Regions from separate parts of the Homo sapiens genome. Here region 1 is linked to region 2. Evidence: promoter capture Hi-C in human tissues and cell types (Jung and others, 2019). All regions are on one chromosome and are shown on one strand. Each heading gives the region's core, a stretch centred on a gene start or on the middle of the fragment in contact. The rest is flanking DNA. Distances are from core to core; before and after follow the strand shown.

Region 1 (4,236 bases), core at 328-2,827, 480 kb before region 2:
GGCAGGATGTTCTGTTCCTTATTTCAGGATCCCACCTCTATGTACTAGGAGATTTTCAAAGCACACAGATCTGTCTGATGATAGGAACACAAAATGAATGTCTGTACTCTGCATTCTTGCTCCAGAGAGCAGCTCAAGCATTTAACTTGATTCTTCTTATTCCAAGCTAAGTTAAGAGATATATTTCCCCCACAGTTGATTGTCTCAAGGATGCATAGTCCTTTTATCTCCTGGGTTACAACCTATGGTTCACAGGCCAAATCCAGCCCACAGCCTGCTTTTACAAATAAAGCTTTATTAGAACACGGCCATGCCCATTTGTTTATGTGCTGTCTATTGCTGCTTTTACTCCTCAAAGGCAGAACTGAGTGCTTAAAACAGAAACCCTATGGCCCACAAAGCCTCGAATCGTTACTATCTTGCTCTTTACAAAAAATGTTTGCCACCCACTGTTTTTAAGTCATCAAAATTTTATTCTTAAATCAAACCAAACATCAGAGAATCATTCCCTTGTGTTGCCTTGTCCTGCCCTGACCCAGCTGTGCTTCTGGTCTCTGCCATCAGCCTGCATCAAGGGACATTTAAGGGCCTGACTATGTAGCCAAGGGCCCTTGAGAAGCTTGTTCACATGGGATATATACATCATGCCTATTATGAGTCCCCAGCAGAAGAAATTCCCTTCAGCCCTAGGAACTTCCAAGAAAAGCTTTGCTTCTTATAAGAAAATATGTTTTTAGTCTTATGGACACTGGAAATAATCTAGCTGCTTGCATTTCCCTCTTTGCCTTGGCTGCTGAGCTTACAGCCACATTTACTGCCTACTCTCAGATATTTTGTAGGATCGTAAATTGATCTTATCTAAATCTCCTAACCAAATTACTCATTTGCAGGAGTATGCATTTTAGTAAACTATTACCTATTTCTTGGGACTAAAGTGTTAAAGGTGTTGAAAATAAGAATGTGGTATGGCATCCCAGGATAGGGGACACGCAGGGCTTTGGGGATAGGCCAAATGACTTAGCATGAGACCAGGCCAAGGGCTGGCCAAACAGTCTTGAACAAATAAAGAGTTACTCCAGTAGGTGACAGGAACCAGACACTGAGTGCAAAAACAGTACCTTGCTCGGCCGGGCGTGGTGGCTCACGCCTGTAATCCTAGGACTTTGGGAGGCTGAGGCGGGTAGATCACTTGAAGTCAGGAGTTCGAGACCACCCGGCCAACATGGTGAAACCCCGTTTCTACTAAAAATACAAAAATTAGCCAGAAATCACTTGAACCCGGGAGGCAGAGGTTGTAGTGAGCCGAGATCATGCCAGTGCGCTTTAGCCTGGGCAACAGAGCGAGACTCTGACTCAAAACAAACGAACAAAACAACAGTGCCTTGCTGAGTGCAAAACCAGAACAGTCTTGTTCCAGATCGAAGAGAAATCAGGTTACACTGGGTACAAGGCAGCCTGCAGAGCTCAGAAATATGTACTACCTCTTTCTCCTTCCTGTAATGGGGTATAGGGGAGCAGGGAAGCTCCTTGTAGCACTGCTGCCCTCTGATACATGACTGTGCACCAACTCTGAGGACAGGCAGGGCAGGCCTCACAGTGCCCAGTTTATAATTAGAGAAAATAAGGCCTAAGACAGTGGTGTTCAATCAGTGCCCTGGATTTCATAGGAGTGCCTCAAGGGCTGACTGGGAGAGGAAGGTGGAGTAAGAGGAGCAGAGGAGGAGTCCAGACTCCAACTCCAGCCTCAACTCTGCTTTTTTTTTTTTTTTTTTTTTTTTTAATTTGTAGCTCATTTAGAGTCTCAAAAAGAATTTAGGTGTTTTTTATTAGTGTTCAAGAAACTCATTTGTACATATTAGAAAAGATTTATTGACATAAAAATAATCTTTTCCTCCATTTAAAAATCTGATTACAACCACTGTTTAACACAGTGTAAACACCGTTTAACACAGTTTAACACAGTGTTGAGATATTCAACACTTTATTAGAAAATAGGTTTTGTGTTAGATGATTTTGCCCAAATGTATGTGTTCCAAGCATGGTTAAGATAGACTGGGCAAAACTATACTGTTCAATAGGTTAAGTATATTAAATGCATTTTCAACTTATGATATTTTCAACTTATGGTGGATTTATCTGCTTTATATATTAGATTTTGTTCTGTCACTCACTCTGTGGCCGTGAGCAAGTCACTCCACCCTTCCATGCCTCAGTTTCCTTATTAATCTAATGAGGATAACAACAATATATACAATATATACAGTTCCAGTTGCTGTAAGAATTAAATAGGTCAAGGTAGGTAAAGTGCTTGGTACACACAGATGAAACTTGAAAAGATTCTACTAAGTCAAAGAAGCCAGTCACAGCATGGTATATTCCTTGGTATATTCCACTCACAGCAGATGTCGAGAACAGGCACAGCCATAGAGAAAGAAAGATGAGTGGCCACCTAGGGTTATGGGGCAGTGGGGATTAAGGTTGATGACTAAGGGTGCAGGTTTCTTTTTGGGGTAATAAAAATGTTCTAAAATTGATTATAGTGACGGCTGCATAATTCTGAGGATATACAGAAAGCCACTGAATTACACATTTTAAATGGGTGAATTGTATAGTACATGAATATATCTTAATAAAGTTGTTGCCAAAAAAAATGCTTACTGCCGCACTGGCATGAAGTAACTGCTAGTGTTATGATGATGGTGACTCATCCGATATAGCACTGGCCTTCTCTTGGACTGCTTGTTGTGCTCTCTAGGGCTCTGCCAGGCACTGACTGCTCCAAAGGGTGCTTTTTCTTTTCTTCTTTCTCTTTTTCTGTTTTTTTTTTTGACAGTGTCTCACTCTGTCACCCATGCATGATCACGGCTCACTGCAGCCTCGACCTCCCTGGCTCAAGTGATCCTCCCAGCTGAGCATCCCAAGTAGCTGGGACTACAGGCTTGCACCATGATCAGCTAATTTTTTTATTTTTTTGTAAAGACAGGGTCTCCCTGTGTTGCCCAGGCTTGTCTTGAACTCCTGGGCTCAAGCAATCCTCCAGCCTTGGCCTCCCAAAGTGCTGGGATTACAAGCGTGAGCCACCATGCCCAGCCTCTTCTTAATTTTTTACTCTGAAAAAATTATAGACTCACAGGAAGTTGCAAAGATAGTGCAGACATGTCCCAAGTACTCTTCACCAAGCTTCCCCTGATGGTGACATCTTACATAGCTATAGTACACTATCAACTCTAGGAAACTGGTGTTGGTACAATATGTGTGTATAGGTCTATGCCATTTTATCACATGTGTACATTTGTTTTTGGTTTTGTTTGAGACGGAGTCTCACTCTGTCACCCAGGCTGGAGTGCTGTGGTGCAATCTCGACTCACTACAACCTCTGCCTCCCAGGTTCAAGTGGTTCTCCTGCCTCAGCCTCCTGAGTAGCTGGAATTGTAGGCACTGGCCACCATGCCCAGCTAACTTTTGTATTTTTAGTAGCGTGGTGGTATTAACAGGTGGGGCCCTTGGGAGGTGATCAGATTTAATGTCATGAGGGTGGAGCCCCTGATAAGATCAGTACCCTTAGAATAAGCAGCAGAGACCAGAGCTCTTTCGGCCACGTGAACACACAGTGAGAAGGTGGCCATCTATCTGCAAGCCAGGAAGGGAGCCCTCACCACACATTGAATCTGCCGGCACCTTGATCTTGGACCTCCCAGCTTCCACACAACTGTGAGAAATAAGTATCTGTTATTTAAGCCACGCAGTCTATGGTGTTTCAGTAAGTAGCCCAAGCCAACTAAGACACACACAAAAGCACAAATGCTGGTTCGCTGGAAGGAAAGAAGGCACTTGTGCCAGCCGTGAGGAGCTGGTCCCTGAAGGCAGCTCAGCCCTGGACAGAGGCTCACCTGGGGTGCTGGCGTCAGAGGCCAAGGGCTGCTCCTCCCTCTGAGGCTCCCCACTCTGTGGAGAATCTTCCCCTGGAGGTTCATGGCCTGTTCCCTGGGCCTGCTTGTTGCCACGGATGTTGTGCATTGTGTTCCTGAAAGGAGACAAGAACAGAGGAGCATGAGGCTGAACCCTGCCTTTCTGCCCTTCTGTCCTTCCCGCCACCACTGCTGGAGCTCAGGTCTCATCCCCACACCCTGTCATCCTGACTGGTCTCCCAGACTCCAGGCACCCTACATGATGCCTCCCCATGCATGGCACTCCCAATCTCCTTTACCTATCTCTTTCGCATTCTCATCTTCCACA
Region 2 (4,399 bases), core at 692-3,191:
GGCAGAGGACGCCTCTCCGCCTGCAGCAGCCTGCGCGTACCGCTGCCAACTGCCACCGGTTCCTTCACCTTTTATTTACAGCGCAGAGCAAGCTGGTTCACCGGTGAAGCGGGGGAGGCAGGGAATAAGATACAATCTAGATTCTGCTCTTTCTCTGGGGACATAAAGAGGGTCCGACCAAGGAGGAGGGGAAGCCCAGATTGCACCACCAGAGCAGTAGCGCGACCCTCCTCCCAAAAGGGTTCTGCACCTGGACTCCAGCAGAAGCGCCCGGAGAGTCCCAGGAAGCCAGGATCAAGCCCAGCGCCTCGGCCCCGTTCCGCGCGATGGAAGAGGCGCCAACCGAGCGTACTGCACAGGAAATCACTGCCCCCTTCAGGCCGCGTCTCAGACGCTGCGGTCGGAGCACAGGGGCTCGCTCGGTCCGGAAAAACTCGCAAACCCGACCTTGCGCGGCCAGCGATCGCTCCTCCAGACCCGCTCCGCGCGCTCCAGCCCCGGCCTGGCGGTGAAGGTCCGCTCTGGGGCTTCAGGCAGAACCCAAACCGAGGGCGTGGGGAGGGGTCTTGGGATGGAAAGCCCTTGGCTCTCTGGCTCCGCTCCGGACTGCTCTCCAAGTCTGTGCTCCGGCTGCTAGGTCGGATGCTTCAAGCCTGAGCCGTGAGAAACTGCCTGCAGCCGCCCGGCCAACAGCAGCGGCGCGGCCGGACACCACTGCACGTCCGGGACGAGAACTGCCAGGGCACTTTCTGAGCAACTAACCCGAGGCAGGGGTCTCCTGAAATCGCTCTGGCCACAGGCAGCGCCGGGCACGTCCAGGCAGAAGCGCTGCAGAGCCGGTGGCCCCACACTTGCCCGCGCGGAGCGGGCTCAGAGCTGCTGGCGCGCACCAGGCGCCCAGCCACGCTGCACGCTCAAGCCCCTTGGGTTCCGGAGCCTTCCGGACCTCAAAGCGCGGCTCGGCTTCCCTGGGGGCCTGTGAGCAGGCCCGCGGCCCCTCCGGCCCTGGGTGGCCCAGTTTGCAGTCAATGCGCCTGTTCCTCCCACTCGGTACCTCGCAGCCCCATGAGCGGGACCTGGACAGGGACAATCAATGTAGGCCTTTGGGGGTCCAGCCCCCACCTTCTCCACTCCTTTTTCTCTGGTCAAAAGAGACCCCAGTCTTCTATCCCACCCCCACCCCTCCCCACACACACATACACACATAAGACCAGAGGAGGGGGTGCTTGGCAAATGTTACCAGCTGTGCCAGCCAAGCCCAGCAGGACCGCGGGGGTGAACACTGGGCACCAGCCCTCTCTGCCCTCGGCAGGCGCGGGCCGGTCAATCGGGGATCTGACCAAAGGCCGGAGGTTGCCTGTGTCCAAACCACCCACCCCAATGCCCCCCGAAGCCCCGACGGCAGGGGCAGCCGGACACTCACCTCCGTGTCATAGAGCCGCAGGTCGAGGAAGTAGGGGCGCAGGAGTGACTCGTTGCGGATCTGCTCGATGGCCAGTTCCACGGCGGGGAGCACACCGCGCCCGATGCTGCCCTTGGCCACCTCCTTGGTGAGCGGCATGAGGCCCATGATGGAGAGCGGCGGGCTGCTGGGCGGCGGCCGGGGGGCGCCCCGCGCCCAGCCCCAGGCCCCGGGCGCCAGAGGCAGCAGCAGCGGCAGCAGCAGTAGCAGTAGCAGGCGCGCGGGCGGCGGTGGCGGCGGCGGCGGCGGCCCGGGCTGCCCGGAGCTCCGCGGGGAAGCCATGCCGCGCCGCGGGCTGCGGGCGCCGGCTCACTCGGCCCGCATGGCCTGGCCCGGCCCGCCGCCCCGCGCCAAGGTCTTCCCGCGGCGCCCGCGCAATGGCGCCGGCCCGGGCCCCGGCTCCGTCTCGGGCTAGGGTTCCGGCTCGGCTCAGAACGGCCGCGGCGGCGGCGGCGGCAGCGGCGGCGCCCGTGACGGATCAATCACGCCGGGAAGGGGTGGGAGCGAGCGGAGTGCGGGAGGCGGGGAGCAAGCGAGCAAACGCGGAGAGGGGGGCCGGCGTCTCCGCGCGCGCCTCTCTCCAGCGCGGCCGCCCCGCACCGGGCCGCCTCCGCCCGCCCCCGTGCGCGCTCTGAACCGCTCTCCCGCCGGGAGCTGCTAGGCGGCAGCCCCTGGAGCTCGGCCGGGGGAGGGCGGACGGCAGGAAACGCGGGAGGCGAAGGCGAGGCTGCTCAGGGGCGGCTCGGGCCGCCTCCAGGGACGGGGACGAGCCGTGCGCGCCGGGGGAGGGGGAGGCGCTGGCGCTGCGGCGGCCGCGGGGAGGGCCACCTTCCCAGCACACGCACACACGCGCCCCCGGCCCTCCGCTGCGCCAGCTGCCGCTGCCCGCCGACCGCTGACCTCCAGGCACCAGAGCGCCCGGGGACAGCGATCTGGGAACCGGGACCGCGCGCTGGCACACGCAGTGGCCGCCGCCGCTCCGCCGAGCGCTGCCTGTAGCACCTGCACGGTGGTTTGGAACCGCTTCTCGGAGGTCTGGCCGGGAAGGTCTGGGCAGGAGAATGTTCCACGAAGGCGTCCCAGAGGCATCTGCAGCCTACGCTCTCCCGTTCTTTTCTGGCGCCCACGAGCCCCTGACCGAGTCCCGGGGGTCGCTGAAGACGCCCACGGGTGCTCGAACGCCCGTTGGTGCCAGGCTGCCCGGCCTTTAGGGCCTTGGCTGAGGACACCCCTTTCCTCCCCACCAGACGGAGCGACCGCCCTTTGCCAACCCCAAGCAAAGCTGGGGTCCCAACCTTACGTGCGCTACCGCCCCCTCCAGGCATTTGACCTCCCCGCGTCCCCATTCTTGATGGGCCCCGCCCTAGAAGTCTCCCGGGGTGGGAGCACTATCCTCAGGCCAGGGCGGGGCCGCGCGCCCCTGGACTTGGCCCTCTCTCTGCCAGGTCGCACTGGCCAATCTTAGCCAAAGCAGTCCCGAGCCAGATGTACCCGAGTGAGCTGACCTAAGACCTTGGGTTCCTTGTGCCTCTGCATACTTCAAGAATAGGAAACGTGATCATTAATCTATAAAGTCCCAGGGGCTGATTAATGCGAGGAACACAGTAGGACATCAAATCACAAAACATACTTGAGCCTGAACCAGGGACTGTGGAAGATATCGACGACCTTGTAACAAGAATGGAAGTTTGACCTTCGCTGAGTACTTACTGTGTGCCTTATGATGTAATCCCCACAACTGCCCTGTAAGCATACTGTGTTACTCACCCTTACTTTACAGGCGAATACACTGGTGCTCAGAGAGGTTCTGTAGCTAGTGGAAGCACACAGAGCTACTGAAGGACCGGAACCCAGAGCCAGCAGGAACTCCGTGCACAGTGCAGTGGGAGCCAGGGATGTGGGACTGCAAGTTTCCTCTCCAGGAGGAGCACTGCCCTGACTCAGTTGCTCTGGACATCGATTCCCTCCGGCATATGGTGAGGGATTTGGACCGGATGATGATGATGATGGCCACACACCAGCTCTACTGGAGTGAGGCAAGGGCAGCTCTGAATCCAGGCTGAGTTGTTAGGAAGCACAAAGATGTGAGTGGAGGCTGAGCAGAACTACTAGAGAGTACCTTGGACAGCGCCAGGGAAACCAGGCCAAATTCTCTCTGCCCTAACTTCTCTTTCCAGGCTTCTATAGACTCCACCTCTCCCGGCTCCACTTGGCATTTCCTTTTCCCCAAGCTGGAGGGTTTGCATGAACAGAACTCACCTGAGCATCTCCTCCAGGAAGGGAGGAAGGAAGGGAGGGAGGGAAAGAAATGGTCCAAAGGACAGTGTAATCCCCAGATACTCGCTCAACTGCTGTCTCACTTGACATCACAAATATCCTCCAGTCATAGTCTTCTGGCACCTGCCATTCCTCAAACCCTTAGCTCAGGTTTCTGAATGAACATTTTCACTTGGTTTTTTTCTTTTTTCTAATTCTTTCCTTTAGTCATTTGTGTCCTCCTTGCAAGCTGTGCCAATATAGAGTGTCCACTGACACCTACATCTGGGAATAAGTTGAAAGCTGGGTAACTTTGCCTGACATTTACTAAGGGGTTGAAGGCCCTACCTGGCATCCTGCCCTACAGCCCCTCTGTCTTCTTTTATGGTGGGGTGACCTGGCCCCAAGACGCATGACCTGGGATCTGCCCTGACCCAGGGGGCACCAATCTCACTCTCCATCAGCATGGCTCCAGGCCAATCTCTGATCTCACAGCCCACTCCTAATGCCTGGGCATCCCTCTGGTTCCAAGATCTTACTCTGGCCTGGTATTACAGTTTGGGTAACTGCATCCCTGATGTGCTTCCTGAGTCTGAGTTCCTGCCTCAGTCACCAGCCTAGAATGCATGTTCCTCCAGAGCTGGGGTCCAGCGTCTTGCTTTATAATAATCATTCATTCCT

Evidence for each region. The method cuts DNA at HindIII sites, captures the fragments that hold promoters and counts their contacts. A contact is called where the count stands out against the background at its distance.
Region 1: a fragment that was not itself captured here is called in contact with the fragment with the promoter of GABBR2 in region 2 in 2 of the 25 tissues and cell types used here (H1 embryonic stem cells and thymus).

What each region holds. Positions count from the first base shown.
Region 1 is chr9:98,229,526-98,233,761 of GRCh38, forward strand. It overlaps TBC1D2 (TBC1 domain family member 2), which reads right to left. Exons shown (of 13, transcript NM_001267571.2): 4 at 3,891-4,024. Among named protein-coding and RNA genes, the nearest start is that of MIR6854, 2.4 kb to the left of the region's middle. The HindIII fragment of the contact is 4,287 bases long and covers 1-3,721 here.
Region 2 is chr9:98,706,994-98,711,392 of GRCh38, forward strand. GABBR2 (gamma-aminobutyric acid type B receptor subunit 2) reads right to left here and starts at 1,942. Exons shown (of 19, transcript NM_005458.8): 1 at 1,424-1,942. The coding sequence starts at 1,744. RefSeq lists enhancers at 1-139, 711-1,281, 3,034-3,328. The HindIII fragment of the contact is 12,748 bases long and covers 1-4,399 here.